Regions from separate parts of the Homo sapiens genome. Here region 1 is linked to region 2. Evidence: promoter capture Hi-C in 16 types of primary human blood cells and fetal thymus (Javierre and others, 2016). All regions are on one chromosome and are shown on one strand. The core of a region is centred on a gene start or on the middle of the fragment in contact, and the rest is flanking DNA. Distances in the headings are between cores, read along the strand shown. Region 1 holds the start of ARPC1B (actin related protein 2/3 complex subunit 1B). Region 2 holds the start of ZNF3 (zinc finger protein 3).

Region 1 (2,802 bases), core at 135-2,634, 710 kb after region 2:
TCCTAAGTAGCTGGGATTACAGGCATGTTACGTGGCTTTTTTTTTTTTTTTTGAGACGGAGTCTTGCTCTGTTGCCCAGGCTGGAGTGCAATGGCGTGATCTCGGCTCACTGCAACCTCTGCCTCCCGGGTTCAAGCAATTCTCCTGCCTCAGCCTCCTGAGTAGCTGGGATTACAGGTGCGTGCCACCATGCCTGGGTAATTTTTGTATTTTTAGTAGAGACAGGGTTTCACCATGTCGGTCAGGCTAGTCTCGAACTCCTGACCTCAAGTGATCCGTCCACCTCGACTCCCAAAGTGTTGGGATTACAGGCATGAGCCACAGCGCCTGGCTACATTTTATTTATTTATTTTAATAGAGAAAGGGTCTCGCAATGCTGTCCATGCTGGCCTCCAACTCCTGGCCTCAAGCGATCCTCCCGCCTGGGCCTCTCAAAATGCTAGGATTCTATGTGTGAGCCACCGCGCCCGGCCGGGATGGGTGGTGGTAGCCTCCGGGCTGCATTGGCAGAGGAGGCAGGGGGAGGTCTGACTCCCCAGGCTTGCACTCCTGATCCCTTCACTGCCCGCGGGTGCAGCCCGGCCCCGCCCCGCCCTAGGCGGCCTGGCTGCTCTCCCAGCGCCTCCGGAAAGGGAGGGGCTGCTCGGATCTGCCCTGGCCGCGGAGCCCTGCAGCTGAGGGGGTGCGTTCCGGGACCCCGCCAGCCAGGCCCGCCCCGTACGGGACCCCTCGGACCTGGCCCGGGGGAGGCGGGTGGGAGCAGCGGGAGCGGCCAGGAGGGCAGGGGCGGGGCGGCAGGAGACGCCAGCTCATTTCCCGGCGGCTGCAACCCGGAAGGCTCCGGGGATGGAGGGGAAGTGACTGGGTGTGGGGCCCCGCCGGCCCGAAGTAACGGGGCTACACCGACCGACCGCGGGGCAAGGCTGGGGATGGGGGCCGGGGAGCAGGGGCGGAAGGCACGAGGCGGAAGCTTGGGGCCGGGGGCTGGGGACGCCCCGAGGGCGCCCGGTGCGCTGGGAGCCCGCGTTTCCACAGTCTGGCCCTGCGGCCACCCCCGCGCCCCCTCCAATCCCAGGGCTCCCTCTCCTTTCCGTGAGCCCCTCGTCCCCGCGCCCCCTCCTCTCCATGTGCCCCCACTCATCCCCGTGCCCCTATTGGGCGGCGCCCCACATCTATGCGTCCTCACTTCCAGGCGCCCCCCGGTCCCCTCCTTGCACCCCCTCTCATCCCTCCAGTCCCGCTCACTCCCAGGCGGCGCCCCACATCTACGCGCCCCCCCACCTCCAGGTGGCTCCCCTGACCCCCACCTCCGGGCGCCCCCACGGCCCTCACCTCCCGCGCCCCGGCCGCGGACTCTGGGCAGTCGACGCGCCGAACCGGCTCTGGGCTCCGCGCCGGAGCAGCAGCCACTTCCTCGTGGGCGGGGGGCGGGGCCTGCCGACCTCAGCCCGGTAGGGCCCGGGGGCGGGGACCTGGGGCAGCGGTCGCGAGATCCAGGTCCCGCCCTCCCTTCGGGGTGGGGGTGCTGCCGGTACCCGCGCAGACGTCGGAGCCCAAGGCTCTGTCCGCAGAAGCCGTCCGCAACCACCGTCAATGCTTTACCAATGGGGAAACTGAGGCTGGGAGCCAGGCGCGCAGCCTGAGCCGCCGCTGGGCTGGACCTCCGAGCCTGGGCCGGGCGCACGGCCCCCGGGGACTGCCGGGCGCAGGGTCGGGGAGTCACGTCCTCTGAGCCCGGACGGCGGGTACTGCGGGCTCCGCGCTCACACGCAGGTGAGCGGCTAGCGAGCCCTGCAGCCCCGTCGGCAGCCAGCGAGGAGCTCCCTTCACGCTGATGCCGGTGGGCGCCAACTGTGCAGGCCCTGGGCGGGGAGCAGGCGGTCCGGGCGTGGCCAGGGCAGCCCGGCCCCGCCCCCTTGGCCCTCCGTGTCCTCGCCACGAAACAGGGGTGCTGTCCCCGGGCAGGGTGACACTGGCCGCCCCTGCTGACGCTGGCCGGCCAGTTAACTTCTTTCCTTTCTGTTTTACGTCAATCGGCTTCACTTCTTTAAGTTACCCGGTTAGCCTTGCAGAGCCGCCTGATTGCGGGTCTTGGGCTAGGTGGTCCCCGGAGTCTTCCCATCCTGACCCTCTGCCTCTTCAGTGGATACGTGGCCTGGCGGCCAGGCAGATGGAAGAGACCCCAGTGAAAACCTTACCTCGGCCGGTCGCGGTGGCTCACGCCTGTAATCTCAGCACTTTGGGAGGCCGAGGCGGGAGGATCACGAGCTCAGATCGAGACCATCCTGGCTATCACGGTGAAACCTCGTCTCTACTAAACAATACAAAAATTAGCCAGGCGTGGTGGCGCATGCCTGTAATCCCAGCTACTCGGGAGGCTGAGGTAGAAGAATCGCTTGAATCTAGGAGGCAGAGGTTGCAGTGAGCCGAGATCGCGCCATTACACTCCAGCCTGGGCGACAGAGTGAGACTCTGTTTCAAAAAAAAAAAAAATTAGCTGCAAGGAGCCCCATGGCGTGATGGAGCGCTGCTGTAATCCCAGCTACTCGGGAGGCTGAGGCACGAGAATTGCTTGAACCCCGGGGGCAGAGGCTGCAGTGAGCCAAGATGGGGCCCCTGCACGCCAGCCTGGCAACAGAGCGAGACTTCCTCTCAAACAACAACAAAAACCTTCCCTCCTCTTCTCTCCTTCAGACCCCTCTCTCTAGTATTTGTGCAGGGTCTTCCTGGATCTCTGGAGATCCGAGGCCAGACTCCCACCCTGTCAGGCTTAGAGGCTTTGACACTCGCTGTTCCTTCTGC
Region 2 (2,897 bases), core at 1-2,500:
GTTCGGAGGCAAGTTTTAAATCAGGGTTCATTTTTTAATATTGATGAATCCTTCAATAATTGTATGTTTACTGCTGCCCTTCGCGAGCCAGCCTGAGAAGCGCGGGCTCGACATCCCCGCGCGCCCCCGCCGCCCGCCCCCAAGGCCGGCGACGCTGGAGCACATGTCCTGAGGCCCAGGACCGTGGTCGGCCGCTTTCGCACATTCGTGGCCAGCAGAGGGCGCAGCCGGCCAGCCCCCGCAGCGAAAGATCCCCGAGTGCCGCGTCAGCGATCGCGCTCCTTGCCCTCGCCGCCTGCCAGCCGCCCTGAGTCAGCAAACCACAGAGAGGCGAGGACCTCCCATTTTCCTAGACAGAACAAGTGGGCGTTGGGGGTACGGGTGAGTGGCAAGAACAACCGACCCGGAAGCGAAACGAGGGGGAACTTCCGTTCTTTGTTCTGTCCCCGGTGTGTGGGTCTGTGACAGGGTCCAACAGGGCCTGGTCCGTGTCCGGTCCCCCAAATCTGTCGTCCCTGCCCCCAGGGTGAGTCCACGCGTCCCCGGGTCTCGCGGTGAGACGGAGGCTGTGGTCGCCGGGGAAGGGGGTGGTGTCTGTGCCACTGCGGCCCGCAGGGTCCCCCGGCCGGCCCGGAGCAGGGTTCGGGGAGGCGCCCCTCCGTCCCCTGCAGCCCGTCCTCTACTCCGCTTCCCCAGGGATCCCCCTAGCCTAGCGGGATCCTGCGTAGGGGTTAGTAATGGGGCTCCGGTTCTGGTTTTGTGACTTTAACGGCGACCCAGCTGGAGCGTTTAAAAGTTTCAGCAGAGCGGTAGGGGCGCCTCTCTCTTGAAAGCAGCTAATGACAGCGACCCTAACTTGGTATTTCTCCCAGACGTTTTTATTTGATGTTAACACAGTTATTCGCGCCCGTGGCAGGAGAGGAAGTTTATTTTTACGCAGCTGGGTCCAAGGATCAGAGAAATTCTGCTAAGCGTACGCAGTTAGCACGAGGGCTGGGAGTGGGTGCAGACGCCGATTCCAGGGGTAATCCTGCTGGAGCCCAGTGCATCGCGTGATACACCTGGCTCAGGCTCCGTTTTCAGTTGTATTAGATTCCTGGTTTGATCCTCTCTCCGGAAGTGGGATTGAATCCACATCGGTGTTTACACTCTGAAGGGCTTTTGTAAACTCCAGGAGAAGATAGCAGAGTGATGAACCTGAAACCGATGGGCTAATTAGAGGAACGAGCGTATTATTTTCTCCAGAAAAGACATCTGTGGAGAGTGGGCATCATTTGATTATACGTGTTTGATGGACAGTCGGGTGGAAGGAGAAGATTCTGTTATTGAAGCTCTTTTTTTAAAAAAATTAATTTTTATTTATTTTTGAGACTGTCTCTGGAGTGCAGTGGCGCGATCTCGGCTCACTGCAACCTCCGCCTCCCGGTTCAAGCGCTTCTCCTGCTTCAGCCTCCCGAGTGGTTGGGACTACAGGCGCCCGCCACCACCTCCGGCGAATTTTTTGTATTTTTAGTAGAGACGGGGTTCCGCCCTTTTGGCCAGGCTGGTCTGCAACTCCTGGCCTCAAGTGATCCACCTGCCTTGGCCTCCCAAAGTGTTGGGATTACAGGCGTTAGCCACCGCGCCCGGCCTTTTTTTTTTTTTTCCTTTTAAAATGTTTGTGTGTGTATTAAGGTCTTGCTCTGTTGCCCCCGGCTGGAGTGCCGTGGTGCCATCATGGCTCACCATAGCCTGGAACTCCTGGGCTCAAGTAATCCTCCCACCTCAGCCTCCTAAAGTGCTGGGGTTACAGGCGTGAGCCACTGCAGGTCGCCAGTCATTGAATTTCTGTGATGCACTAGGTCTCTGTGCGGTGAAGGTCCAAGGAGATAGATTTTCAGCGAATCACCTGAAGACTTCTAATGGCTCAGCTGTGCAATGTGGATCCCCTGCTGAAGTAGTTCGGAGCACAGTGTCTAGCAAGTTAGCTGACAGAACGTTAGAACTTTCTTACCCTGGGTGGAGGTGGACCTGAGAACCTACCATTCCCTTTCATCTCTCCACGGGTGCAACGCAAATACTAGTTGTGGTGGTGGTCTTAATTGGTATTTATTAGCATATAATAAGTATTCTCTTTTTTTTCCTTTTCTTTAAATGTCTTGATTAGAAATGAAGTTTAGGCTGGACTCGGTGGCTCATGCCTGTAATCCCAGCACTTTGGGAGGCTGAGGTGGGAGAATCACTTGAGGCCAGGAGATTGAGACCAGCCTGAGCAACACAGTGAGGCTGCATTTCTACAAAAAGAATTTTAAAAAACTCAGCCAGATGTGGCAGTGCACACCTTTAGTCCCAGCTCCTTGGGAGGCTGAGCTGGGAGGATCACTTGAACTTAGGAGTTTGAGTCTGGAGTGAGCTCAAACTCACTGCACTCCAGCCTGAGCAGCAGAGTCAGACCCTGTCTCATGGAAAAAAAAAGACGTTTGCATGAATATTTTAAATTCCTTTTTTTCCCCTTAATCACACAGCATTGGCATCAACAAAAGTCAGAATTCCCGGGAACTTGAACAGAGGCTGCTAAATTCCCAGTAATTGCTCCTTTGGCCTTCTAGGGACTGACTTCAAAGAAGGAAGGAAAGAATCAGGCAGGTAAAGCTTTCCGTGTCTTGTTCTTACTGCCAGGCCATCTATCTCGGTCCCCACGGGCAGCACCAGGGAGTGAGGCTGGCAACAGAGCAGGGGAAGGGCCCTGTCTGGACCTGAAGCCATGGGGGCACAATGGAGAGTTTTCTTTCTGTGAGAAACGCTGTTTACTGATCTGGACACTGGGTGCTTGTTCTCAACAATATGCCTTTGAGTTCCAGCTTCACTTAACCCAGCTGTGAGAGGGAGCTGTTGCCTTTTTCTCTGGAGTCAGACCT

Evidence for each region. The method cuts DNA at HindIII sites, captures the fragments that hold promoters and counts their contacts. A CHiCAGO score of 5 or more calls a contact.
Region 1: a contact is called between the fragment with the promoter of ARPC1B here and a fragment that was not itself captured in region 2, in 1 of 17 cell types (fetal thymus). The highest score is 6.3, in fetal thymus.

Annotation. Positions count from the first base shown.
Region 1 is chr7:99,373,312-99,376,113 of GRCh38, reverse strand. ARPC1B (actin related protein 2/3 complex subunit 1B) reads right to left here and starts at 1,384. Exons shown (of 10, transcript NM_005720.4): 1 at 1,333-1,384. RefSeq lists silencers at 474-1,113, 1,124-2,003 and an enhancer at 2,304-2,802. The HindIII fragment of the contact is 2,162 bases long and covers 973-2,802 here.
Region 2 is chr7:100,079,264-100,082,160 of GRCh38, reverse strand. It overlaps ZNF3 (zinc finger protein 3), which reads left to right and starts at 438. Exons shown (of 6, transcript NM_032924.5): 1 at 438-526; 2 at 2,505-2,625. RefSeq lists a silencer at 30-109 and enhancers at 1-193, 350-499. The HindIII fragment of the contact is 2,766 bases long and covers 1-2,633 here.